Linked DNA regions of Homo sapiens: regions 1, 2, 4, 5, 6 and 7 are each linked to region 3. Evidence: promoter capture Hi-C in 16 types of primary human blood cells and fetal thymus (Javierre and others, 2016). All regions are on one chromosome and are shown on one strand. The core of a region is centred on a gene start or on the middle of the fragment in contact, and the rest is flanking DNA. Distances in the headings are between cores, read along the strand shown.

Region 1 (3,840 bases), core at 177-2,676, 690 kb before region 3:
AGAAAGCGTGTGACTGCTTCACATTTCATAATTTTGTCATTGTAATTGTCATCACGCCACTAAAATTCCATGCCTTTCAATTTTTGTTTTTGTTTCTATCTCTAAATAAAAATGTTTATTTAAATGCCTTCTATGGACACTTCAGACCAAGTCCAAAACTTTACCTTAAGGTGAAAACTCTTACTATTTTTCCTACAAGGTTGTGTTTGGGAGGTTATTCATTTGTCTTTTATTTTTTACCATGAGCTGTTTGTCTAGTCTCCTGACATGGTAACTGGAGACACAGATCCCTCTGTCAGAGTCAGCATCAAACATGTGTAAGGCATGTTTTGACTCTAGCAAACCATCAGGGAAATAATTTTTGATCGTTCTTTGAGTTAAAATTGTCTTTTACATTGATGCTAAAGACTTTCCCTAAGCAACCTCTACCACATTAGCATAAAGTGTCTGAGTTTCAAAGATTCCACCTCAAATGGCTCCCTTGTGTTCAGCACCATCACTCCCTCCTGGTATTCTTCTTCCTGAGTAACTTCCTATTGACCTCCTTTCCCTTTCAGTCTCTTGCTGAAATGGAAACATCAGAATGAAGGGGCAGGCTGTATGTGGGAAAGATGAATCACCATTAAATGAGAAACCTCAATCCTAATGCTAGTCTTGTAGAAATTGGCTTGTATGGTCCTGAGAATGGTAAAAATAATTAATACAAATAACTTTAAACATTACTTAATAAAGTAACAAATAATACAGCTAGAAAAGAGAATGATAGGATAAAGGTTACATTTTTTATATTTAGCCATTCTTGGTCTTATAAGTGTAGAAGACAGAAAAGCTTGTGTCCAATCCTATTAATACCTTAAAGCCATGTGTGGCATTACAACCACTGAAAAAATGCTGGGTAGAGTCAGTCCACAATGACATGCTTGTCACGACGTGCTTTGGCAGGTTCTGCCTTTCCCTTTACTTATTCTAGGCTGGGTCCCTTTTGACTACTGTCAGCAGTGAAGAGGAGGAGAAACTCCTCTGATTTCTGAAGATTCACAAGTTACAAGACTATCTTATATGCTTGAGGATGGCCAGCATGTAACTGGTGACAATGAACAAAATTATATACTTACAAAGTGCAATCGTTACATTATCCTGATCATCTCTTGTGTTGACAGCAATCTGTAGGATGGGATGAATCAAGGCAGCCAGCTGAAGTCCTGCCCTCTGGATGCCCTTGGGGGAAGGTATTTGGAGAGTAACTTAGGGGGTGATGTATAAAGGATGTGGTAACAAATGTTATGAGTGTGTGTGTGTTCACTGACACACCAGCAATTGCCAAAGCAAAAATGGTGGCTTCGTCCCTCTCTATTGAAAAGGGCCTGCTTAGAATGTGGATGCTTAAACTGCTGTCACCTATAAAAATATTCTAGCATGAAAGGGGCCTCAAGGATACACAAAACAGAAAGTAAATGGTATCCACTGAAGTTAGCAATGTAGCAGGGCCACAGGAAACAGAGGGTGATTGCCCAAGGGCACACACACCCTAAACATAGTCCTATTTCTAATGTTCAAATTAAGGAAAAAAACAATTAAGTGAAATCCTTAGGTGAGTCATCTTATCATGAATTAAAAATTATTGAAAAAAGAGGGCAATTATAACCTAACAATTCTAATTCCTGATATTTGCTGTAGGAAACAAATATATAAACTCATTTAAATAAATGACTATTCACAATTTTAGCAGTAAAACATGAAAATATTATCTGAACATGCAAAACTAAGAGACTAACCACCAAAGTGACTCAGGAAATGATTCACCATGTTGCATAAGCTGAAAACAATTAAGTTACTACATAATATGTAGAAGATGGCCTAAATGTTATAAATATATATATGCAGCAGGAGTTTGTAATAGCAGATAACAATTTTAGCCCTAACTATGAATAAGTTAAACTCCAAAAACATACTCCGCAATTACACAGATTAGAGACTGGCCCCTCTTCTGGACCCAGGCCCACATTATCAGACTGAAGGAGGTTAAAGCTTATTTTCTGAGGACAAGGAAGAACACGGTGAAGGGTAAGGTGGGAGAGGTGGGGAAGCATAGGCAACATCATGTCAGGAAGTGGAGAAGGAGGTGAATCCTCATGTCCTAAGTATTCTCTAGGCCCAGCCACAACTCTGGGAATAGGAACAATTGTACCTACGTTCAGACAGAGAAACCAAGATGCAGAGGAAAGAGGATAGGTTACTTGCCTGAGGTTACAAAGGTGTAAGTAGAGGAGTCAAAATTTGATCCCAGGGGCTGGACACACTGGCTCACGCCTGTAATCCTAGAACTTTGGGAGGCCTAGGTGGGCGGATCAATTGAGGTCAGGAGTTCGAAACCACCCTTGTCAACATGGTGAAACCCCATCTCCATTAAAAATACAAAAAAATTAGCTGAGTATGGTGGTGGGCACCTGTAATCCCAGCTACTTGGGAGGCTGAGGCAGGAAAATTGCTTGAACCCAGGAGGCGGAGGTTGCAGTGAGCCAAGATCGCGCCACTACACTCCAGCCTCGGTGACAGAGTGACGCTCCGTCTCAAAATAAATAAATAAAAATAAATAAATAAATAAATAAATAAATAATTTGATCCCAGAACTTTTACTTCCAGAGGCTGAAATCTTAACCCCATACCATTCTGATTTCGCATAAATAAAATACTGAAAGCACATTAACCCATACAAATACACAAACACACGCAACTTCATGACACTAATGGAAAAGAAGTACTAATGACAGCATATATATAATTCTACAAGATCTAGCATGATACTTCAATTCCCCTTCTCAGCTATACAATATTAAAAGGCATCTAAATTTCCTGAGGGTCAGTGCAGTGACGTAGCCAGAACACACTGAATTCTGGGAGAAAAATTGGATTTAATATTTCTTACAGATTAACAAATCTTATTCACTGCTGGTAGCATAGGGAGATACAACTTGTTTGGAACATAATGCTGTATTATCTATTAATTTTGAAGACACATACATCTTATGACACAGCACTCCCAGTCCCAGCAAGACTTTTAGCAGCACTGTTAAAGCCAAAAAACGGGGAAACCTGTCAAAGGGACAAATAAATTGTGGCATATTCATGGATACTCATGTGCTGGAATACATTACAGCTGTGAAAATGAACTGCAGTTATGACATAATGAAGATCAGCAAGTTACAGAGGAATGTATATAACATTTTATTTATTTAGAAAATATATATATACATATATATGTATGTGTATATATATATACAGAGAGAGAGAGAGAGAGAGAGAGACGGAGTCTTGTTCTGTCACCAGGCTGGAGTGCAGTGGCACAATCTCGGCTCACTGCAACCTCCACCTCCCAGGTTCAAGTGATTCCCCTGCCTCAGCCTCCCGAGTAGCTGGGATCACAGGCGCCTACCACCATGCCTGGATATTTTTTTTTTTTTGTATTTTAGTAGAGATGGGGTTTCACCATATTGGCCAGGATGGTCTCGATCTCCTGACCTCATGATCCACCTGCCTCGGCCTCCTAAAGTGCTGGGATTACAGGCGTGAGTCACTGCACATGGCATATTTAAATTATAAAAATTTGTAAAAACTTAATATATTGTTCATTGTTATAAAACTTAAATGAAAAGCAGAGAGATAATAAGACACAAAATTTAGTCGTAACTTCAGGGAACTGGAAAGTGGCTAGAACCAGAGGACAGACGGGAACTTCAGAAATAATGATAACACTCTATTAGGTTGGTGCAAATGTAATTGCAGTTTTTCCCATTTAAAAGTAATGGCAAATGCCACAGCTACTTGTGCACCAACCTAATA
Region 2 (3,924 bases), core at 1,345-3,844, 710 kb before region 3:
AAATTCTACGTCCATATTCACTGCAACTGAACTGGAGACAAAGATGGGCAAGGAGAAAAGATGTTAAATGGAAGTGGTAACCCTAAGGCTGGAAGAAGAGATGCAAACAAAGGCTGGAATGGATTTGTGGAATTTGTAACAAACACTTCCTAGAAGCGATTCTCAGTAAAAGGGGGCAAAGAGACAGGTGCACTAAGTTAGCAAACAAATTCCAACAATGTGCACTGGGGGTCATATCCCAGGGATGCCATGAAAGGAAAGGCCCAGGCTTGGCAGAAAAAGGGACGGGGCAGGTGTGGAACTCCCACATTACCTTTCTCCTTCTCCTCCTGAAGACGTTTTGCCAAAAGCATATAATTCAACTTCTGAAAAATACGAATGGTCTTCATCACTGCAGACACCGCCCCAGCATTTTGAATCATCAAGGTAGCTACTTGTATTCTGTTTGCAGTATGTAGTTTGCCTGTGGCAATATTAAACTCGTCTGAAAGAAAGAACTTAAACCTATCCAGTTCCTCATCAGTGATGTTATCCAGGCCTGTTAGCAAGAGTATCTCCTTGTATTTACTCTCCATCTGACAACTTTGGGATCAGCCTATAAGGAATCCAAAACATGTAAGATTACACCACCAAAAGTGATTCTACATTCAAAATAAAGCAAGGTGAGCTATTAATATTTTTTAAAGAAAAATAAAATATTTGCAGTAGTAAAAGAGATTTGAGTAGGACATAGGTAAGAACTTCTTAAGCAAGGTGATCACTACTCCTGGGAAAGACATCTTCAGAAAGTATACAACACCTCTGGAATTCTCAGAAAACAAGATACATTAGCTGGGCGCGGTAGCTCACGCCTGTAATAATCCCAGCACTTTGGAAGGCCAAGGTGGGCGGATCACCTGCGGTCAGGAGTTTGAGACCAGACTGGCCAATATGGCAAAACCCCATCTCTACTAAAAGTACAAAAATTAGCCGAGCATGGTGGTGGGCGCCTGTAATCCCAACTACTCAGGAGGCTGAGGCAGGAGAATTATTTGAACCTGGGAGGTGGAGGTTGCAGTGAGCCAAGATCGCGCCATTGCACTCCAGCCTGGGCAACAGGAGCGAAACTTCATCTCAAAACAACAACAACAACAACAACAAAAAGGAAACAGGATACATTTTCCTGTTATTTTTAAAATAGATTTATCGAGGCATAACTGGCATACAACACGGTGCATACACTGGAAGTATACAATCTGATAAATTTTGGCATATACATATACCTGATGAAGTGCAATTAATCAATCTGTTCTTTCATGGATCATGCTTTCAGTGTCTTATTTAAGAAATCTTTTCCAATCTCAAGATTAGAAGATTTTATGTCTTCCTGTAAGAATTTTACGGTTTGATCATTTCACATTTGGCTGTATGTACTGCTTTGAGTTAATTTGTATATGATATAAGTGATGATTCAAAGTTCATTTATTTTTCATATGAATATGAATTTTCCCAGAATCATATGTTAAAAAGACTGTCATTTTTAATGATTTTTTTTTTTACCTTTGCAAAAATCAGTTGTCCAAATATGAGTGAGTCTATTTCTGGATTCTTTATTCTGTCCATCAACCTATTTTTGTAACTTGTTGCCAAAATCACGTTGTAGTAATATAGTTGTTTATGTATAGTATCCAAAATAATACACAAAACATTATAAATAATAATTCAACAGTTTATAACTATAAGATTAATATACAGAAATGCATTCCTTTATTTTAGTACCACTCCAAGAGAGAAAAAAATTACATAAAAAAAGTAATTTCCAATAGCAACAAAACTACAAAGTACATAAGAACATCGAATACAATATATTTAAGAGTTTTAAAGGGAAACTTATAAAACTTTATTGGGAGATTTAAAGGACCTACTTAAGTGGGTGTATGTCTGATATTTTAAATGGGAAGATTTGATAAAATGAAGACAGCAGTGTTGTCAAATTAATCTATAAACTCCTATCCAAAATCTCAAAGGGTTTTTCATAGAATTTATCAGAATGATCCTAAAACCTAAATGAAAAAAATAAAGACAAAAACCTGCAAAACAAGTTGAATATGTTTATCAGGATGTACTATCCCTACTACTAGGTATCAATACTTACTACAAATGTATAATTATTAAATCAGTATGGCAGTGGCGTAGAAAAAAATGAACTAATAAATAGAGTGTGGAAACAGGACCACATGTAAATTAAAGCTTGGTATATAATCAAAGTGGCATTAAAAATCACAAGGAAAGAATGGCCAACTATAAAAAGTGTTCAGACAAATGACAATACACAGGGAATGATATATTCAGCCTTTCTCTTATATCATACACAAAATATATATCTGGTTGGATTAATTATCTAAATAGAATAGTAATGATGTTGAATAAAACACAGAATTTCTCAATACATTGAAGTAGAAGGAGGTTCCTTAAATAAGGCACAAAAAGGACAAGCCAGAAAAAAAAAATTTGTCAAATGTGATTGCATGCATATTCTCAATTTCTTTGTAGGAAACACACACATCCGTGCACACACACACACTAAACAAAGTGATTATACAAGGCAAAAACTGGGCAGATACCTGCAATACACACACACACACACACACACACACACACACACACACACATATATATATGGCTATACCTGCTATATATATATATATAGAGAGAGAGAGAGAGAGAGAGAGCTAATAGAGGTTTTGCTTTTGGAATACATGGAGAACCATGTATCAATAAGAAAACAACAGTCTATTTGAAAAGTGTGCAAAAGATGTGAATGAGCAATTTGCTCAAATATCCAATAAACATAAAAAAGATGTTTGACATTATTAGCAATTAATGACTTCCAGAGCAGCAACATATAAAGTGGAAGAAATAAGCCAAAGAACAGGAAAAGATGTTTATGAGCTGAAAATAACTGATTGTGAATTTTAGGGAAGCTTGAATACCCCCATCAGTAGAGTCAATGTTAATAAATTCTAAACTATCACTGTTAATGGCCTTATAATGTTTTTTCCTATATGTTGGTAAGCGCTGGAGAAACTCTACTTATACATGTAGAGTTCATGAGTGAAAATTAAAACTATTATCAGGACCATTTTCAAAATAAGGAATACATTAAAAATATTTGCAATGATAAAGCCATCCAAATGCCCCCATCCTACTGATGAAAGCAAGGAAGGACACTACCTTTGTTGAATATCTACTGTGACAATCAGCTTGGATGATTCCTACTTTTCTACTTGTCCATAAGAAGCTAATCTTCCTATAACCCTCTTATATAATAACAATCACATTTTAATCACATTTTATGTGATTGACTCAGTTTTTTCTCTGAAGTTATGTTGCCTTATAAATGAAAAACTTGCATTTTACTTCATAATATCTGTTAACTTAAAAAATGCTTGTATTTGCTATTGGCATAAAAGTCAGCCTTACAAATAGGCTGATAGACAAACCCCAAAGGAAGCCGAAGCTTAAGGAACACCAGCTCAGAGACACCAGAGGACATGGCTAAAGTGAATAAAAGAGAAATGAACCCATCCTTTCAGAGCTGATGTCCATGTTTGCAGGTTCAGGTTCTCAGAGGTGTGCACAGCATGGCTGGCCTTTCCTCAGTTGTCTTTTTCAGCAGAGAAACGGTTAAGTCTCTCGTCTCTAACCCAGCTCCTCTATGGTGCTTACCTCCTGATCCCTGGGGCGATCAGCAAACCGGGTCTGCCACCTTCTTTTCAGAGAGCTTAACTAGCAGAGGACTCAGGAGAGCATGCCCAAATAACCTAGGTGACTTTCAAAGCTACAAAGACTCTGACACTTCTGGACGGCTTCACATGTACCCCTAATAAACACTTCCCTTCACCCCCAGGCCCAGTGTGGGTAGGAGTGACAACTGGAGCTCTA
Region 3 (4,339 bases), core at 961-3,460:
AGTCTGAGCCAGGAAACCATCAGAGAGGGTTTTTCCTTACAGTTTGAGGCCCCTTGGGCCCAAGACAAAACATCATATGGCACCCTTGACATATGGCACCCTTGACAAAGCTTAAGGCAGGGACCCTGGGCCCTTTCCACTCTGGGTCTGCTGGAAGGGAAGGGCAGAGCTTCCTAAAAAGGGAGCCAACTGGCCTCTCCACATGGAGGCCCTAATGGTTTGATGGATGCACTGCTAGCCCTGCAGAAACCCACAAGAGGGAGAGAATCATTGGTAGGGGACTCAGGGAAGAGGAAGATCTCGGTCTCCCAAAAAAATTTTCTCTTTCTGGAGAATATGGGCTTCGAGCTGGATATCAAGGAGGCAAAGAAGGAGCACATAGGAGGGTAGGGAGTGAAGTGGAAACTTCCCTGGTGAGTAGGGGAAGCAAAGAAAGGAGAACAAGGCAAAGGGACTAAGAAAAGATTAACTTACAAGAACAAATGCTAGAGTCTTGTCTCCAGAGGTAGTGCAACCAGAAATCCTGAAGAGCAGTTGAATTGAGAAGAGAAGTGGGAGGTCAGGGGGTTGGGGGAAGAGGTGACTGGTGGCTGAGAGGCCATGGCTGGGAAAGAGAGAAAGGAATAAACTGGGGAGGGCTGGTAACCTTGATAGGAATTTATGTAGGAAATGAGAGTGCAAACAGGAAGGGCTTAATGAGGGCTGTGATTGTCTGGAAGGAGAAAAAGGGGAGATTTGGCACCTCCTGGAACCTGGGGAAAGTAATTGTCTGGGTAAATGGTAAGTGTATTTCCCACAGGGTCAGAGCAGGCTTTGATCTTTAGGAGAAGACAAATTGCTTTCCATCTTGCTGAAGCCAAAGGCTTAAATGGTCAGACGTGTGTCATAGGTGGGTGCAAAGGGAAGGAAATATAATACATCCTCATGGCCAAGTGCCCTGGGCTTGGATCACTGTGTCCTTGGCCAAGTTAACCAACTTCTTTAAGCTTCCAATGATTCATGTACAAAAAAAGATACAAAAATACCTTTCACATGTGGTTCTTCCAGAAAGCGCTTGGCACAGGGCCTGGTACATAAACAAATTCAATAAGGGTTAACTATTTTCATAATTACAGTTAGTCTGCATCGCTAGAAGCACATTATTCAAATGAGGATATGGACTGGTCAGATGACAGTGGAAACGGTGTTCAGATCTAGGGGCCCCCACCTAGTAAGAACAACACTAATCAACTCTAGCCTGCCCAGGGGACAGTGACCCAGAGAACTAGGAAACCTTGAAAAATGAAGAAATATGAAATACTAATAAAAATTAAGAAAACCCACAAGCGTTTAACCCAGATAATATTTGGGGACATGAGGGGGTTATGTGAAGAGAAAACAATGTTCCATTTAACTTTAGGAAATGGCGATATTATTAAAGATTTTGGAGGCATTAGTCATCATCCTTTGGTCAAGTTTATTAACCTCTCCAGTGCCTCTGTTTTTTCATCCATAAAATGGGATTCACTAGATCACCTATCTTATAAGATTACTGTGGCAATTAAATGAGTCAGTATGTGCTAAGTGCTTAGAAGACTATCTAGCACATAATAAATGCTCAATAAGTCCTGAGGAGCAACTGGATTGACAGGAGAAGTTGGTGCTGGTTATTATTATTACTATAATTATTACCCTGGGTAAGTTTTTAATAGTTCCAGCAATGAAAAAATGAGAATAGCCTCCTTGCAGCAGTAATTCCCTCTTACTGGAACAGTTCAAAAAGTCGCTGATAACGACCAGTCAATCATTAGAGAGGAGACTCCTCGTCCTGGGAGAAAGCCGATTTGTCATCTCTTAAACCCCAGGGCATCCAGCGTGAAGGAGGTAGAACTAGGCCGGCCCGCGAGGAGGCAGGGGCAGGCGCCAGTGACGCAATGACTGCAACATGCCGCCAGGGTGCAGCAGAGCCCGACCCCGGGTTGTTCCATCCGCAGCAAACAATTCCTAACTCGCTCCAGGTCTTCCTTCTTAGCTGAGTGGGTTGAACCCCGTGGAAGTAACCCCCCGCCCATTATGATGATCCAGCCAATCACCGCGTGATCTGCTCGGACGGGGCGGGATCGCGGCGCTTCCCTCGGTCGCTCAGAGACTGGGTTCCGCGTTCCAGCCCCGCCCCAGGTTCTGGGCCAATCCCCGCGGCTGGGCAGAGCGACCCGAGGGCGGCGCCCTGCAGACCACGTGGCCCGGGAGGCGCCGAGGCCAGGTAGGTGGTGAGTTACTTGGCTCGGAGCGGGCGAGGGGACGCGTGGGCGGAGCGGGGCTGGCCAGCCTCGGCCCCCATGACCCGCTGTCCTGTGCCCTTTCCCAGCGATGGGCGTGCAGCCCCCCAACTTCTCCTGGGTGCTTCCGGGCCGGCTGGCGGGACTGGCGCTGCCGCGGCTCCCCGCCCACTACCAGTTCCTGTTGGACCTGGGCGTGCGGCACCTGGTGTCCCTGACGGAGCGCGGGCCCCCTCACAGCGACAGCTGCCCCGGCCTCACCCTGCACCGCCTGCGCATCCCCGACTTCTGCCCGCCGGCCCCCGACCAGATCGACCGCTTCGTGCAGATCGTGGACGAGGCCAACGCACGGGGAGAGGTCAGCGGGCGGGGTCAGCGCAGGGAGGGAGGGGCCTGGAAGGTCAGCGGGGGACACGGGCGGAGCTGGGGAGACCGGGCCTGGGATAACTTAACTGGGCTCGGGGAGGCAGACAGTAGGGCCGGGAGACTGGGAAGCCAGTGCGGGGGAGGGAAGCGCTAAACGGAAGGAACTAAAGAGAGGGCGAAGCAGTGCGAACTGGGCTTGAGGAGAGGCAGTGAAAACCAGCTAATACTGTGAGTTGTGAAGGAGAAGGGTGTGGACAGACACCTGGGAGAGGTGGGGGTTGAAGTCAGGTGGAGGCTGTTTACCATTTTCTAGAGTAAAGCTGTCCAAATATAATGGAACCTAAGTGGCTCCATGTAATGTTAATTTTTCTAGCAACGGCATTCTTAAAAAGCAGGGAAGCAGATAAAATTAACTTTGGTGATCTTAATGAGATATTTTCATTCTTTTTTCTACTACCTCTTCATACCCTGTTGCGTTTTTCACACTACATCTCAGTTTGGACTAGCCACATTTCGAGTACAGTAGCCACAGTAGCCGTGGCTACTGTCTTCTGTATTGAACACCACAGGTGGAGGGCTGTGTAGAGGTGGACAGCTCTTGAACCAGCCAGTGCAGAGGCCTCCTAGCCACCTAGTGCAGGGACAGCCCTCCCTGACTTTGCTGCAGAGCCCTGGACCTGGCACAGAAGAAGGAGCTGTGGGGAGAACCAAGTGAGGGGCAGGAAACAGTTGTGGGTGGGGGAGTTGAGTGGCACCCATCGAGCCCCCTCTTCGTAGGCTGTGGGAGTGCACTGTGCTCTGGGCTTTGGCCGCACTGGCACCATGCTGGCCTGTTACCTGGTGAAGGAGCGGGGCTTGGCTGCAGGAGATGCCATTGCTGAAATCCGACGACTACGACCCGGCTCCATCGAGACCTATGAGCAGGAGAAAGCAGTCTTCCAGTTCTACCAGCGAACGAAATAAGGGGCCTTAGTACCCTTCTACCAGGCCCTCACTCCCCTTCCCCATGTTGTCGATGGGGCCAGAGATGAAGGGAAGTGGACTAAAGTATTAAACCCTCTAGCTCCCATTGGCTGAAGACACTGAAGTAGCCCACCCCTGCAGGCAGGTCCTGATTGAAGGGGAGGCTTGTACTGCTTTGTTGAATAAATGAGTTTTACGAACCAGGGCACGTTGCATGGTACTTTATAAAGCATTCCCACACATTAACTTACTTCAGCCTCACTGTAGCCCTGTGATACAGGAAAGACAGATGGGCCATCTCTGTTCTTTGGATGAGGTGGGCAAAGCTCAGAGAGGCCCATCTTCAACACTTCTAGAAAGTGGAAGGATGGGCCAGAACAGCAACACACGTCTTCAATCCCTTGAAGATGCTGAAATGCTATGTATCTGTTCCCTGACAATATTTGATGTGTTTTCTGGGGGAGCTAGTCAATGAAAAGGATTCAGGTCCAGAATAGCCTGGCCTCCTGGCATTCCCAGGTCTCTGATGCTCACAGGCCAGGAGGCCCCTCCGTGTAGGCCCACCTGCTGCACACGTGTCACCCTTGTTTATCTGGGGGTAGAGACAGCCTGGATGTCACACTCACAGATAACCACCATCTCCACCTCCACAGGGCTGGTCACCTCTTACCAACCTCAGGTGCTGCTCAGCTCATCTGGGCTCTCTGGCTCATTCTGCTGCCCCACAACCTCAGGCCAAAGGACCTGAGAAC
Region 4 (4,029 bases), core at 1,324-3,823, 650 kb before region 3:
CTTAGCCAGAGGCTGTGAGCTTAGATTTAGGAGACAAACATAACAACATTTCTCCTACTAGAATGTAAGTCCATATAGTGATTTTCATTTTTAAATAAACATTTATTGAGCCTACGTGAACTGTTATATTTTAATCTAAAGCTGAGACAGGGTAAGTCACTTGTTAAGCGCCACATGGTTATAAATGACAATACAAAGAATTAGAGGGCCACGGAAAGCCAGAGAGAGAGAGAACAGATGAATTTAGACAGATGTGGCTTTGACTGTCAAATCTGCTACTTAGAAGCTATGAAATTTTGTCCAAGTTACTCACTTCTCTGAGCCTTAGTTTTCCCATTTCTAATGTGGGAATAATATCTACTTTTCATGGATTTTGTGAAGATTAGAGGCTGTTTTTCTAATGTGAATGGTTCATGGCTGACCCTTTAGAGAAAAAGAGGAGAGAGGAAGGTGTTTAAGTAAAAAGTGCTTACTCCAGGAAATGCAGGGGTAAGGTCGGCCTGTGTGTCAAGGCATCAGAATTTCAGGTAGAGTTACATCCAGATTTCCATGACCTTTGTGGACAAGAGATTAGAAAACATGCAGTTCTCACAGTCACTCCTACTGTGACTATAAGAATTCATGGCTACAAAAAACACTTCCATTCTAGGGCCAGGAATTCTGAGCAAAACATTTGCAAGTCAGTCCACTCCAATCTATTGCTTGATGGCCATTCTAGACCCTCGAAAGCTGTGTGCAAAGGAATGTTCCTTCATTTCTGCCTCTAACTTGAATCTCTTGTTTTCTGACATTCTCAGCTTCTCAAAAGCCTTCTGAACACATTCATGTGATGAGAGCTATTTCCTGTCTGAGAATGGAAGTCAGGGAAGGACGAAGGAAAATGCAAGACTAAACTGCCACTGGCCTGGGAGTCTCCACCCATTTCCTGCACTGTGGCCACTGCTATAGGTAGTTACCAGGTAATATCTCTTCCTCCAGTTTGCAAAGTCTCTGGTATTATCAGTTATGAAAATGTAATCTAAAATTGATAGAATAGGCCGGGCACGGTGGTTCACGCCTGTAATCCCAGCACTTTGGGAGGCTGAGGGGGGCGGATCACGAGGTCAGGAGATCGAGACCATCCTGGCTAACACGGTGAAACCCTGTCTCTACTAAAAATACAAAAAAAATTAGCTGGGTATGGTGGCGGGTGCCTGTAGTCCCAGCTACTCGAGAGGCTGAGGCAGGAGAATGGCGTGAACCTGGGAGGCGAAGCTTGCAGTGAGCCGAAATGGCACCACTGCACTCCAGCCTGGGTGACAGAGCGAGACTACGTCTCAAAAAAAAAAAAAAAAAAATTGATAGAATTACTTTGGAAAGCAAGAAAGCATACCCTGGTGAAACCGAACAGGAATATAAACTATGACTCAGCAATCCAATTCCCAAGTGTATAATCTGAAATTGCTTGCTCTAGGAGATATAAGATTATTCCAACAGCATTGTTTATAATAGACAAAAAACCTGGAAAAAAACTGCATGTCCATCAAAGGCAGAATGCATTAATACATTGTGTTATACTCACACCATGGAGCATTATCCATTAATGAACATAAACTGTTGTATATTCAAGAACATGGACAAACCTCAAAACACAATGGTAAAGGGGCCAAAAACAACTCATATAAGAATATGTTTCCACTTACATAAAGTTTAAAAAGCAAAACAAAGTAATATATTATTTGGGGATAGCTATATGTGAAATAAAACTATAAACAAGCCAGGGGATGATTGGTTACCTACCCCTAGGGACTGAGAAAGAATGCAATTGATGAGGTTCACCCGAGAGTCTTCAAAGAACTAGTGATGTTCTCATTTTAAGCTGACTGGTAGGATCCTGAGTGTTTATTTTATTATTGTGATTATACTTTCTAAATGGTTCATATACATTCCATATACCCTAGGGTATGTATAATTTATTTCACAATAAAAAATTAATGTAACCCAAATGTGCACGGGGCCCTTAGGGTCGCCTCTGCTCTCACGCCACACTATCTTGAGTCAAGTAACAGATCAGTGTCGGCCCTGACTAGTGTTATGGTCTGAATGTCTGTGTCCCCACAAAATTCCTATGTTGAAATCCCAATCCCAATGTGATGGCATGGGGCCATTGGGAGGCAAAGTCTCTGGTATTATCAGTAATGAAAACACAATCTAAAATGGATAGTATCACTTTGGGAAGCAAGAAAGAATACCTTGGTGAAGCTGATCAGAAATGTAATCTATGACGCAGCAAAACTATTCCCTGTTGGGATCCTTAATGGGATCCCTAATGGGATTTCATAAGTGCTCTTATGAAAGAGGGACAAGGAAGTTTGTTCCTTGTTTCCACCACATGAGGACATAGCCATCTATGGGTCAGCAAGTGGGCCCTCACCACACACTGTATCTGCCTTGACCTTGGACTTCCCAAGGCTGGATTTCTCATAGCCTCCAGAACTGTGAGAAATAAATTTCTGTTGTTTATAAACCACCAGGTCTGTGGCACTTTGTTGTAGCAGCCCTTTCCCTGGAGTATTCATCTCCCTACTTCTCATGTCACCAACTGAAAGTGCCTTCTTTTTCATCTTAACCAAAGTTAGTCTGCCCATCAGTCTCTGCTGCAATCTCTTAATCTGTTCCCTTCATAACAAACTCATTACAAACTGCAACAACTTTGTTTACTTGTTTCTGTTTCTTTTCTTTTTGTCAGTCTCTCCTAGTAGAACACATGCCTCTGGAGAGTCAGGACTTTGTATGTCTTGTTTATTGCAACCTCCCCATCTCTCAGCACAGTGCTTAGTATAAAATAGTTGCCAGATATGGTGATAGGAGTGTGATAATAAAAAATGTATCATAAACCCACAATAAAATAATTGCTTTGTTATAAATTGTCATCTTATGTGCCAAGGCTTACACACACACACACACACACACACACACACCACCCCAAGCCCTGCCATTTTTCTGCATGACTCTGGGGTTACACGAGTGGCCTGTCCAGAATCCCGTCCTCTCTTTCCTTTGAGTTTTCTATCTCCATTAAACTTCTATTTGCCTTTACTGCAACCACTAATCCAGATTTTTTTGTGTGTTTAAAGTAATAAATATTCTGTACTTGGAGAATGGCCTAGTATCGTTATAGCGAGTTCACTCAGTTACTCCCACTCTTTTGACTGCTTTTGACCAAGCCAGTAGTCCTCTATCCGACTTCTTCACCTCTATGGCCTTCCATGGAAAGCCACTTGCCAGTATCCTAACCCCCTCTGCCTTTGTCCTTCCTTCCCTCCCACACCCCCTCTTTCCAGGATCTAGATACTTTAACTCTCAGCTTCCTCAGTGTTTGCACCCGGGCTGCTAATCATTGCTAGGGAAAATCACACAACTATAAATTCATGACAATAAACTTCATCTGGTTCTCCACACTGCTCCACAAACTACATTTCCTAGTCAGCTCACTCTTCATATTTTAATAATGATACTTCAAGATTTCTTCACTCCCCTTATATGTTTGATCCCTCTACATTGGGACACATTCTCAGCAAATAACCCACATTGTTACCTCACAGAAATTATCAAGTCCACTTGTCAGAAACTCATCCAATCTCCTAACTGCAGTGGATTGAACAGTGGACCCCAAAAAGACATGCCCAGGTTTTAACATTTAAAACCTATGAATGTGACCTCATTTGTAAAAAGCATCTTGCAGATGTAATTAATGTAAGGATCTTGAGATGAGATCATTGTAGATTTAGGGCGGGCCTGGAATCCAATGGCAGGCATCCTTACAGAGAAATGCAGAGAGAGATCTGAGACACAGAAAAGATGGCCAGGTAAAGACAGAGGCAGAGTTTGGAAGTATGCAGACCCAAGCTAAGAAGCTTGTTCAGAGGAGTGAAAATCTGCTTACATCTTGACCTTGATTTTGGACTTCTGGGTTCCAAAACTTTGACAGAATAAATCTCTGTAATTTCTGAGGCACCCAGTTTGGGGAAATTTGTTATGGCATCTCTA
Region 5 (3,761 bases), core at 311-2,810, 540 kb before region 3:
TAGAACATATTTTATCTACCAATTTTTTTCACTTGACTTATATTGTATATTGATACAAATATACTCAATTTGTACTTCCCAGTAACTCACACATGTTAGGAGCAGTCATTGCTAGTACATCTCAGTGTTTAGCTGGAGTAACCATTCTTTACGAAACCCCAATTTCACAACTTACTGGAAGGCCAATGCCTGCCCATACTTTCTTTGAATGCTCAGAGGTTTATATTCTCATACTTGCCTCTTGCTCCTGCTGCATTAGTTGAGTTTCTAGACTGCTTCAAGTCCAAAACATACGTCCCCATTCATGTGTTCACCTTGGTGTGGAGACTGCATTTTTTCTGCTTCCAATTTCTCACATGTGGCATCCATCAGACTTTACTACAAGTTTGAAAAGATGATTTGCATGTTGGTCGTCCCTGCCCTAGGTTATTGTAGCCACACTGCCTTGAAAAGTAGTTCCTTTGTGGCACCTAATGGATTGCAAAGGCTTTTCCCTGTTTCAAGCTCCTTTTCCTTCCTATCTTTCTTCCCATCTCGTTCTCACTCATTTCTCTGCCATATCCGCCCTCACTCTTATGGGCTCTGAATTCTTCCCATACTATAATACAGAGCAGAGCTCTCTCTAGTCCCTACTCCAAAACTCCGTTCCAGGCCCATAGTGGTTGCACCAAAATCCATTAAGGTGAAGTCAACATTGCAGCAGAAAAGACCAGCAGAGTCCCCAAGACTATTTTTAACAAGATCCGTCCCCCAGTCCCCTTTAGAAGGCAGCTGCTGTTTTAAATAGCAGTATTCACTTTTTTTTCTCGGTTTCACCAGAAATGGTTTCATAATCACAAGAATATAGGCTTGTGACCCATCAGGACCTAAGCATAACAGCATGGCTGCTGCTAGTGGGTGTTGTATTCATTCAGAATCACACAATAATTAGATGGATAGCATAGCTTTATTCAGAGTGAAACCTTCCTTTCACAGAAGAATGAATAAAGGTAAAATAGAGGTACTCTTGTAGATCTGAAAAACAACTTTCATGGGCTAGCCCAGGGGGAATAACCACTGGGAGGAGGGGTGCTTACCTGAGTGTTAGGATGCCGGATGCCCTTGTCTGAGATTGCAGTGTGACTCATTTCCTCCCAGAGAGCTGCTAGAGATTAGGATATGGGTGACAGGAAAGCTAATTGCCTCAGCTTACCAAGTGGCTCCCCTTAAAGGAACACTTATGGCAGACAAGATCACTTTGGGGAACAATAGATCTTTCCCACTTATCCACACCATCTTGAGGAAAGGCAAGAATCTTCTGGGGACCATGCATCTATCCTGCTACCCCTTCCATCCTCAAGAAGACTCTTACTGGCCCTCATGAAAGTCCTCCCTTGTTCTCGATGCAGAGAAGTGTCTGCAGACATTTATTCCTGTAGTCTTCTGCTTCCTGCTCACCCTCTGGAACCAGAGTCAGGGGCTATTCAGATTGGCACAGCCAATGTGTTCTACTGAAGAGCTCCTCTGCTGCTGTGTTTTGAACCCATGACCCTCACCCTGAGCACAACCAATTGGCCCAGGTAAGGGTGGTGCTGATGCAAATGCAGCATCAAAAGGCTGTCCAGTCACCTCTCACCTACAGATATTAGGTTGGTGCAAAAGCAATTGTGGTTTTTTTCAATTACTGCAAGTACTTTTGCACCAGCCTAACATAATCAGTCCTAAGCCTGAGCAATTCTACTTCCTAAGTATTTCTCCCTCTTTTCTGTTCACATCTCTTCTTTTATAGCTCTTACTTGGATTGGTGGAATAGCTCAATAACAAGCCTCTTTGGATCAAGGGTTATTCCTCTTCTTCCAACTGTTCAAAGAGTGATATTTCTAAAATACCAATTGGATCACATCATTTCTATAGTTGAAAGCCTCCAGTGTCTTCCCTCCAGGAGCACTTAGGGTAAAGTTCATACTTATTGGCATAATTAAATTGTCTTTATAAGCTGGACCCTGCTTATCTTGAAGGCATTATATTTCTGTATTTCCACAAGCTCCTTCCTGCTGCCCATCATCCTGTACTCTACACTCTACTTATACCAAACTATTTTTGGTTTTCCTAACACTATGGTATCCCTCTAGGCCCTTGTGCATATTATCCCTTTTGCCTGTAACAAAGACTTGCCACAATCACCCTGCTGGTAAAGTCTTCCTTTTCATTTACTTCTCATTTTGGGTGTTACTTCCTACAAGAAGATTTTCTTGACCCCCTAGGCTGGATTAAATACTTCTTCTATGTGTTCCCATAATTATTTCTTAACTTGTCTTCCTTGGCTATGAATTCTCTGTGCAAGAAATTTTGCTTCCTTTATTTCCAAAGCCCTGCTGAAGGCTGAGCATACAGGGAGCACTCATTACAACTTTTTAAAAAATTCATTTATATTGGATATTGATAAATTATACTTGTATATATTTATGTGGTACAAAGTGATGCGATGATATATGTATGTAATGTGGAATGATTGAATCAAGCTAATTAACATATTCATCACCTCAAATACTTATTTATTCCTCCTGTGTAACTGCAACATTGTCCCCTTCGACCAACGTCTCCCCTTTTCCCTCATTTCCCAGCCTCTGGTGACCACCATTCTGCTCTTTGATGCTATGTGTTTGACCTTTTAGATTTCACATGTAAGTAGAACATGTAGTATTTATCTGTCTGTGCCTGGCTTATTTCACGTGGCATAATGTCCTCCAGGTTCATCTATGTTGCCGTGAATGATAATTTCCCTCTTTTTAAAGGCAAAATAATATTCCACTGTGTGTGTGTGTGTGTGTGTGTGTATCTTTTTTACTCATTCATCAGTTGATGGGCACTTAACTGACACAATAGTCATAACTTGGCTATTGTGAATAATGCTGCAATAAACATGGGAGTGCAGATATCTCCACAACATACTGATTTCAAATCCTTTGGATGTATAACCAGAAGTGGGACTACTGGATCATATGTTAACTCTATTTTTAGTTTTTTGAGGAACTTTCATACTGTTTTCCATAATGGCTGTATTAGTTAACTTTCCCATCAACAGCATGCTAGGGTTCCCTTTTCTCCACATCCTCATCAACATTTATCATCCTTTGTCATTTTAAAAATAGCCATTCTGAGAGGATTGAGGTGATATCTTATTGTCGTTTTAATATGAATTTCTCCAATAATTGGAAATATTGAGCAGTTCTTCATGTATCTGTTGGCCGTTTCTATGAGTTCTTTTGAAAATGTCTATTTCAGGTTCAGTGCCCATTTTAATATGGTTATTTGTTTTCTACTGAGTTGTTTGAGTTCCTTATATATTTTAAATTTTAACCCCTTATCATATACATAGTTTACAAACATTTTCTTTCATTCCATAGGTTGCTTCTTCACTTTGTTAATTGCTTTCTTTGCTGTGCAGAAACTTTTTAGTTTGATGTAATTCCATTTGTCTATTTTTGGTTTTGTTGCCTGAGCTTTTGGGGTCATATCTAAAAAATCATTGCCTAGACATATATCATATAGTTTTTAACCTATGTTTTCATCTAGTAGATTTACAGTTTCAGGTCTTACATTTAAGTCTTTAATCCATTTTGACTTAATTTTTGTACATGATATGAGATAAAGGTCCAATTTTATTCTTTAACATGTGGATATCCAGTTTTCCCAATATCCTTTATTGAAGAGACTGTCCTTTTCCCATTGTGTATTCTGGGACCCTTTCTGAAAATTAATTGACCATAATTTCATGAGTT
Region 6 (4,082 bases), core at 465-2,964, 510 kb before region 3:
CAGAAATGGTAGCTGTTTTGGGAAACATACCATGTGGGAAAAGAGTAGCTCATTTCTGAGCAGATAGTACAGAAATATTAAAGCTTTTAAAACTACTAATATTTTATAACTTTTAAATATCTAATGTCATAATTAATCTCATTCAACATTTATAAAACTTTATGAGGTAGCTTTCTTTTTTTTAATAAAAAATCCCATTTTACAAATGAAGAAACTGAGGCTCATGGAAGTATATAACTTCTTGACGTTCACACAGTTAGAAAGTGCCTAGCCAAGGCTGTTAGCTCTGCGGCATCATCTCTCCTTCTGGCAAATAGGCCTCGGACCTTTTCTCATTCTCATAAAGTAGGGGTGATGGTGTTCCCTTTGTGCAGGTAAACCAGCTCTCCTTTCTCTGGACCTAGGAATTTCTGGTATTTGAAAAATCATTTCTCCCATTTTCTACCACCCCTCACTCTTCCCACGCTAACTCTCTCTCCCCATAAAGAACCCTTTAGTCTATCTCTACCACTGTTTTTCTAGGTTGGGAGCATATACCTAACTGAACTCAGCAACTACTTGACTGTGCCATTCCTCCCAAGTAAACATGGAGAGCTGGGAGGACTCTTGGGGACTGCAAAAGTCCTAGAAAGGGAGAGACACCTACCACCTGGCTTCACATACTCTTCTTTGAAGGACAAAGTCTTTGTTCCAGCTGATAGGATTCAAGTTTATATATAAATGAATAGAAATGCTTTTTCCTCCTTGAGCACTTGTTTCAGGTGTTGTGACTGCACCACTTCCTGTAACTTCTCATTTCCTGTTTTCCTCTGAGAAAGCCTAACATGTTAGACAAGGAAACAGGCTCTATGTCTTCATGAGGGTACAGCCTCTCTAATACTTACTATCTGTGTTTCCAGATCTTGGGAAAAAGTGAATATGAAGGACTACTATCTTCTCAGAAAACTGACATAATTCCCTACATAAGGCCATTGTGGGCTTCGAAATGGAAGAGATAGATAAGGGCCTCCGTTTCTTGACCTTGCTCCTTTAATATGGAACCTAAAGACATCCAAGTGCATATCAGTTGAGCAAGTCTGTTAGTGGAGATCAGAAGCGCCAGCTCATGACTAAGCCACTTGGAGAGTTTACCACAGCAAGGTGGTTTTGACTGTTATACCACTTTACATGGTTTTTATTCTTATTCATACATTTGTTTCATATATGTCCATAATAGGTCATTGGTTAAGGCTACAGATCATAAAGAATATTCATGTTGAAATATAAGTTAATGAAGAGGGGCACATGTTCTCAGAACCTCCTGAGGGCTGTGTCATGGGCAAAAAGAAATATATTTTAAAGAAAAAAGTTAATAAGGAACATAAAAATGATCACTTAGAAAATCCATGTGATGATTAAAATTAAAATTAAAAATAACAATTATAAACATTTTAAATTTTCAAAAAGTTATAAAACTATATATTAGATACTACGTGTTCACCATGCCATATTTGTCATAATTGTTTCCTACCTCTTTTTTTATAAGTAGTAATATTTATAGATGTAGTCAGAAATTCACCTCCATCCTTTCCCCTTCCTTACTTCCTCCTTTCTCAGAGGTAACTACTATATTGAGTGTATATAGAGTATTCCTTTGCATGTTTATACCTTAGTACATATGTCTATATCTATAAATATTCGATCTTATTTTAAGTTTATGTATGTATTCTATTTCTAAAATTTTTCCATATTGATTGTCAAAAATATCTTAATCTAAAAAATATTTTATAGTACATCAAGATGTTAACACTTAACTAAACCCTAGTAAATTAAGCACTTGAAAACTCAGCATGAATATTATTAAATAAAATTTTGTAGGCTCTAAATGCTAGAAACAAAAATCAAAATCCTCAAAGAAATTTGTGTACATTTCTGAGATAATGCAAAGTAGTTAAATTTCAATCTTCATTTTAATGCATATATTTTTATCCCCAAACTTCACAGATACCTTATTTGAGTCCTTGATTTCCTAGCTTATGGCCCAATTCTAGGTGAAGAGCACCACATTAACTCCCAACAACCAGGAACTCCCTGTATTGAGAACTGGGCAACTTCATCTTCAAGAGCCCAAGAGCTAGATCTCCATTCTGTCATGAGCCAAGATGTCTCCATCTCACAACTATGTTGAACTCCACAACCATCTAAATCAGTTAATGTCCTTAGTCTACTGATGATACCCAAGCCCCTAAACACATGTTGGAAATTGATTCCTCCCGTGGGTCCACAAGTATGCTTATCTTATAGTCCTAACATAGACTGCCATGATTTCCTTACACACATAAGGTAATAAAATGTCCTTCAGGAGAACATAGGGCCTTTCTTTGAAGGGGAAGGGCAGTGGAGTAGGAAATAGAATAATTAAAAGAGAAAGGAAAGATCCAGTAATGAAAACAATAGATCAAAAGGTAAACAAATTAGTTTTTTAACCATATCCTGGTTCAGTTAATATTTACCATCTATAACTTTGTGTTTTGTTGCTAGAACAAAGACCTTGCCTGTAACAACACAGTATAAGAAGCCAAACAGTGAGTGTCTCTCCACTGTGATAACTGCTGCTATCCCCCTCAGTACTCCTGAAAACCCATGGAGAGTGTGATGGAGAGGCATCTTCCGGGTATCCTGCTCCTCACCACTCTCTCGAGAGGTGTGACAGTGAGGTAGGAACTGAGCTAATGAGCTAATTGGGAAGTTTCCTCCACGTCCCAAGAGAACTAGAATATAAGACCTATTGTTGGTTTTGTTGCTGCTGCTGCTACAGTTTCAGAAAGGTATGAATGAAGGTTGGCATATGAGTAACCTATTATTCCAAAACAATCTGCCACAAAATTTAACAGCTTGAAACAACAAATATTTATTAACTCTGGTTTTCTGTGGGTCAAGAAATATAGAGTAGCAGGGCTAATGATTCTGAATGAAGATCTTTCATGAAGTTGAAGTCAATAAATGAGAGCTGTAGTCTCATCTGAATGCTCGACAGGAAAAGAATCTGCTTCCAAGCTCACTTACGTGGTTGCTGTCAGGATTCAGCTCTTTATACGATGTTGGATTGAAGGCCTAATTTTATCACTTACTATTGGCCATAAGTCTCCCTTAGTTCCTGGCCACATGGGTCTTCCCATAGAGCAGCCTGCAACATGGCAGCTAGCTTCTGCAATGATGAGTGATTTGACATAGGGAGAGAAAGTGCCCAGCACAGAAGCCTCAGCCTTTTGATAATCTAATCTTAGAAATCACATACTTCATTCCTGCTGTATTCTATTCATTAGAAGTGAATCAGCCCAGCATCAGGCCAGTGCCACTCTGGAATGAAGCTTTCAGAGGAAGGAGCAGGCAGCAATCTTTGCTGTTCTGCAGCGTCTACTGGTGATACCCCGGCAAAGAGGTCTGGAGTGGACCTCCAGCAAACTGCAGCAGACAGACCTACAGAAGAGGGGCCTGATGGTTAGAAGAAAAACTAACAAACAAAGCCACAGCATCAACATCAACATTAACATCAAGGACCCCCACACAAAAACCCCATCCAAAAATCATCATCCTCAAAGATCAAAGGTAGATAAATCCATGAAGATGAGGAAAAACCAAGGCAAAAACACTGAAAATTCCAAAAACCAGAATGCCTCTACTCCTCCAAATGATCGCAAATCCTCTCCAGGAAGGGCACAAAACTGGATGGAGAATGAGATTGACGAATTGACAGAAGTAGGCTTCGGAAGGCGGGTAATAACAAACTCCTCTGAGCTGAAGGAGCATGTTCTAACCCAATGCAAGAAAGCCAAGAACCTTGATAAAAGATTACAGGAACTGTTAACTAGAATAACCAGTTTAGAGAGGAAAATAAATGACCTGATGGAGCTGAAAAACACAGCACGAGATCTTTGTAAAGCATACACAAGTATCAATAGCTGAATTGATCAAGTAGAAGAAAGGATATCAGAGACTGAAGATCAACTTACTAAAATAAGGTGTGAAGCCAAGATTAGAGAAAAAAAGAATGAAAAGGAATAAACAAAGCCTCCAAAAAATATGGAACTATGTGAAAAGAC
Region 7 (3,953 bases), core at 157-2,656, 570 kb before region 3:
AAACATATGCAGAAATTAAATAAAGTATTATAGGGATTATGCAAAACCTGCGTTTAAAAATCAATTGCACAAAAACAGGATGGAAGATACCTGGCTCAACAGAAGTTCTTGTAAAAAAAAATTTTTAAAGACTTAGAGGTTTCACTTGGCTACAAGCTAAAGATGATTCAATAGTGCATGTGGTAGCCAAAACACTAATGCAGACTCAACTGCATTAAGAGACAAAGTGTACAGGACGAGGGAGTGCACAGCACCACCCCTGCCCTGGACAGGCCATAGTTAGAATAGAGGGCTTGGCTCTGGGTACTGCATGTTTAAAGGCCACTAACAAATGAGAGTTCTTAAAAAGGGGGTGGCCAGGCTGGGTGCAGCTGCCACGCTTATAATCGTAACATTCTGGAAGGCTGAGGTGGGCAGATTGCTTAAGCCCAGGAGTTCCAGAGCAGTCTGGTCAACAGGATTAAACCCCATCTGAAAACACACACACACACACACACACACACACACACACACACACACACACAAATAATACAAAAATTAGCTGGGCATGGCGGTGTGTGCCCGCAGTCCCAACTACACAGGGGGCTGAGGTGGGAGGATCCCTGGATTCTGGGAGGTCGAGGCTGCAGTGAGCCGTGATCGTGTCACTGCACTCCAGCCTGGGCGACAGAGTGAGACCTTGTCTGGGAAAAAAAAAAAAAAAAGTGAAGACAAGGCAGAGGGAGCTAGTGGCCAAAATGTTGACAATCTAGAGACCATGTTACTTCTACATGGAGAGACTAAAGGTGCAAGGGGGTCAGGGGTGGGGGAGATTTACACTGGAAATGTGTAGAAAATATATAGTTGTCTTTAACTCAACAGTTGTGCTGTTCAAAAAGCATTAGGCATGTATGTAGCTTCAGAATTAGAAACACTGAATGAGAAGAAGTAACAGGGAGGCTGGTTTTGGCTGAATGTTAGGAAGAGCTTTTGACAATTCAATCTGAGCCACAGAGATGGCTGTCACATTCTGGAGGGAGGGAGGGAAGAAGTGGAGGGAGGAAGGAAATGTGTATGAGCAGACCGTGTGTTATGCACTGCTCTGTGTTCTTGTTTTACAGTGGTGAGCATATCAGATGTGGGCCTTGCCTTTGTGGTGTTTGGAGACTAAAGTGAAAGGCAGTAATTAGACACATAAACACACAAATAAATTACAAATGCTGTTATGAGATAACAGCATTTAAGAGAAATGCAAATAAAAAAATTTTCATCTCTGGTGCAAATAAGAGAAAGAAAATAAGAAGGTAAAAGCAATTTGAGTTATGAGTTCATAGCTACAGAAAGGATCCAAGCTGTGGCTTGACGGTAATAAATTATCAAAATGTCACAGAAAGCATTCCCTGAATTGGGTTAAAGCTGGGACCAGTCCAGCTGCTTTCTTTCAAATTGGCAATACATTGGAATCACCTAGAGGAAGATTTTCAATAGTCCTTGATCTAATCCAAGATACCATTAATCATAATTTTTGGAACTAGAAGACTCTGAAACTCTGTGATAATATGTTAAGTGAAAGAACTAGACTAAAATGCATAATCTTTGATTCTGGTGTCTGGGTTTCACTTGTGATGACTTTAATCTCTTTGCTTGCGTTATGGAACTAAATTCCTCTGATTCAGAGCTAGGATACCTTTTCTCTTCAGGAGACCAAACAACGAAGGGATTCCTAGCCAGATATGCACCTGACCTGAATTTTTCCAAGAGGTGGGTACCATTCCAGGCACTAGCTGCTGCAGAGAAATTGTAGCTGGTGCCTGGGGTCCCTCTAGTGGTCAGAAGCTGTCACTTCAATTCGCTTCTCTGGCCCAGGTTTGGCCAGAGAATTAGAGGGATGCAGGAGTCCCGCAAAAAGCAGGCAAAGAAACCTAAATACATGTATATTTCAGAAGGTTCTTCTTTATAATTAACACTAAAAATAGAGGTGACATAACTCACGAATTTCTTTCCAAATTTTTCCTGACCCTTTTTACCTTGTCTTGGCTAATTTAAATTTAGAGAAAGAAGGGAGTTGAGAGAGATACAACTTTTAGAAACCAGAGTAGACAGCTCCCCAGGATACCAGGCCATCAGTTAGGTATTCCAAGTTTCATTTTCATTCCCTGGCAAAATGCAAAACATATCAGAGTTGGGTGGTCAGATAGAGCACTGGGTTGAGTAGGGAGACATGAGTTGTGCATTCTGAGCCGTAGCACTTCGCAGCTTTCTAAGTTTCTAAGAGAAAAAGCAGGTAATGACACCTTCCTTGCCTGGCTCACAGGTCTGATGTAAAGATTAAATGGGATGACTGACAGATGTGGAAGCTCTGAAATCAGTTACAGCTGGGAGGAAATACACTGCAATTAGTATTAAAGAAGAGTTTGCCCTGCAGGCAATTCGAAAAATGTCCATTGCCTTTTGGGGTCACTTCACCCTAAACACAAGTTCTTACAAAGGCAGGAGCACATGGGAGCTGGACTGCTAGGAGTTAGCCTTCCAGCTCTGTCTTTGGGTGTGTTCTCAGCCCTGTGACCAAAGGACTCACGGAATCTGCCTAAAACAGTGTTTCACAGGGACCTCTAAGGAAGAATTCCCTTACAACAGGGGTCAACAGGGGGCAAGGGAAGGGAGCAGGTGATAGTAGTGATGGTAATGGGAGCTGTTGGTGGGTATTTTAATGGCATTTGGGCTGGCTTTTCTGCATTATAGTATTGTTTAGAGAAGGGCTTAAAATGCTCTTGAATTGCCACAAAATCTTTGATCATACTTAACCTTATACAGGGACCCTCAAATGACCACATTGCAACTTTTCTCACAACCCTCTCCTGTGGGTTATGTTCCTTGGTGTCCTTTGGAAGCTCCTTGTTGTGGGAAGGTGGAGCGGTTGGGAGAACTCATCTGCTTATCAGCCACGGAGCTCCCCCAACTCATTGGAAATACATTAACATCACGTCATCTACTAATGCCATTCAAGTTGTGGGCTATGGATCAATATTGGCATCACTGGGGAGCTTGTAGGAAATGCAGACTTTCAAGTTCCATCCCAGATCTGCTGCTGAATCAGAAGCCGCACTTTCACAACATCCTAAGTGATTCGTTTGCACACTGCAGTTTAAGAAGCACCCCACATTTTGTTGGATATTCAAAAAAATGAGAACCTGACTTTAGGGTCTCCTCTCTCCCACCCTACCACTACCTCCAGCAGTCTCCTTGTCTTCCAGATTCCACCTTAAAATTCAGGAATCACCATGCACTGAGGACAGCCCTGCACAAACATCTAGTTCCCATGCTTTAGGAAAAGTGACAAAAACCCACACCGCCTTCCTTTCCCAGGCTCCCTCTGCCCCAGAAAAATAGAACTTCCTCAAATCTTCCCCCAAGGCCGGGTGCAGTGGCTCACACCTGTAATCCCAGCACTTTGGGAGGCTGAAGCAGGAGGATCACCTGAGGTCAGGAGTTCAAGACCAGCCTGGCCGACATGGTGAAACCCCATCTCTACAAAAGTACAAAAATTAGCTGAGCGTGGGGTGGTGCCTGTAGCCCCAGCTACTCGGGAGGCTGAGGGAGGAGAATCGCTTGAACCTGGGAGGCAGAGGTTACAGTGAGCTGGGATTGCGCCACTGCACTCCAGCCTGGGTAACAGAGAGAGACTCTTCTTAAAATAAATAAATAAATAAATCTTCCCCTAAATGGCACAGGTCTGAGCGCTGTGTGGTAATGGGGGACACAACCTTTCTACCTGTCTTTCTTTCTCCTCCTCTGGGTGGGAGGGGCCTCTGGAAAGAAAGGTGACTGTGGGGAGCCATCACTATGTCAGGTGTGATGCAAAAGTAAGGTCAGAAGTGAGTGCTGAGGGGTGCCAAAGAGCTGGGCATAGGATGGAGGAATGTGCCCCTGGAAGGTAGCAGAGAGACCACACAGAGTCACGAGGCATGTGGGGT

The links. Contacts are between HindIII fragments. The CHiCAGO score rates a contact against its expected background, and 5 or more counts as called.
Region 1: a fragment that was not itself captured here is called in contact with the fragment with the promoter of DUSP23 in region 3 in 5 of 17 cell types (megakaryocytes, endothelial precursors, M2 macrophages and 2 more); the score reaches 6.7 in megakaryocytes.
Region 2: a fragment that was not itself captured here is called in contact with the fragment with the promoter of DUSP23 in region 3 in 1 of 17 cell types (total CD8 T cells); the score reaches 5.4 in total CD8 T cells.
Region 4: a fragment that was not itself captured here is called in contact with the fragment with the promoter of DUSP23 in region 3 in 5 of 17 cell types (M2 macrophages, endothelial precursors, M0 macrophages and 2 more); the score reaches 11.5 in M2 macrophages.
Region 5: a fragment that was not itself captured here is called in contact with the fragment with the promoter of DUSP23 in region 3 in 5 of 17 cell types (endothelial precursors, M2 macrophages, erythroblasts and 2 more); the score reaches 14.0 in endothelial precursors.
Region 6: a fragment that was not itself captured here is called in contact with the fragment with the promoter of DUSP23 in region 3 in 6 of 17 cell types (M2 macrophages, megakaryocytes, endothelial precursors and 3 more); the score reaches 14.2 in M2 macrophages.
Region 7: a contact is called between a fragment that was not itself captured here and the fragment with the promoter of DUSP23 in region 3, in 8 of 17 cell types (M2 macrophages, endothelial precursors, megakaryocytes and 5 more). The highest score is 36.2, in M2 macrophages.

The regions. Positions count from the first base shown.
Region 1 is chr1:159,090,454-159,094,293 of GRCh38, forward strand. It overlaps a transcript of AIM2 not described here. Among named protein-coding and RNA genes, the nearest start is that of AIM2, 16 kb to the left of the region's middle. The HindIII fragment of the contact is 1,199 bases long and covers 828-2,026 here.
Region 2 is chr1:159,072,925-159,076,848 of GRCh38, forward strand. It overlaps AIM2 (absent in melanoma 2), which reads right to left and starts at 3,842. Exons shown (of 6, transcript NM_004833.3): 1 at 3,709-3,842; 2 at 314-595. The coding sequence starts at 575. The HindIII fragment of the contact is 734 bases long and covers 2,228-2,961 here.
Region 3 is chr1:159,778,752-159,783,090 of GRCh38, forward strand. DUSP23 (dual specificity phosphatase 23) reads left to right here and starts at 2,211. Exons shown (of 2, transcript NM_001319658.2): 1 at 2,211-2,616; 2 at 3,402-3,792. The coding sequence starts at 2,350. The coding sequence ends at 3,587. LOC101928264 (a long non-coding RNA gene) reads right to left here and starts at 630. Exons shown (of 3, transcript XR_922193.3): 1 at 475-630. RefSeq lists a silencer at 2,146-2,535 and an enhancer at 2,527-3,103. The HindIII fragment of the contact is 4,062 bases long and covers 985-4,339 here.
Region 4 is chr1:159,125,331-159,129,359 of GRCh38, forward strand. It overlaps a transcript of AIM2 not described here. Among named protein-coding and RNA genes, the nearest start is that of TRR-TCT4-1, 14 kb to the right of the region's middle. The HindIII fragment of the contact is 2,642 bases long and covers 1,253-3,894 here.
Region 5 is chr1:159,238,915-159,242,675 of GRCh38, forward strand. No RefSeq gene overlaps it. Among named protein-coding and RNA genes, the nearest start is that of ACKR1, 36 kb to the left of the region's middle. The HindIII fragment of the contact is 6,426 bases long and covers 1-3,761 here.
Region 6 is chr1:159,265,989-159,270,070 of GRCh38, forward strand. No RefSeq gene overlaps it. Among named protein-coding and RNA genes, the nearest start is that of FCER1A, 34 kb to the right of the region's middle. The HindIII fragment of the contact is 3,267 bases long and covers 82-3,348 here.
Region 7 is chr1:159,212,546-159,216,498 of GRCh38, forward strand. No RefSeq gene overlaps it. Among named protein-coding and RNA genes, the nearest start is that of ACKR1, 9.6 kb to the left of the region's middle. The HindIII fragment of the contact is 6,582 bases long and covers 1-3,953 here.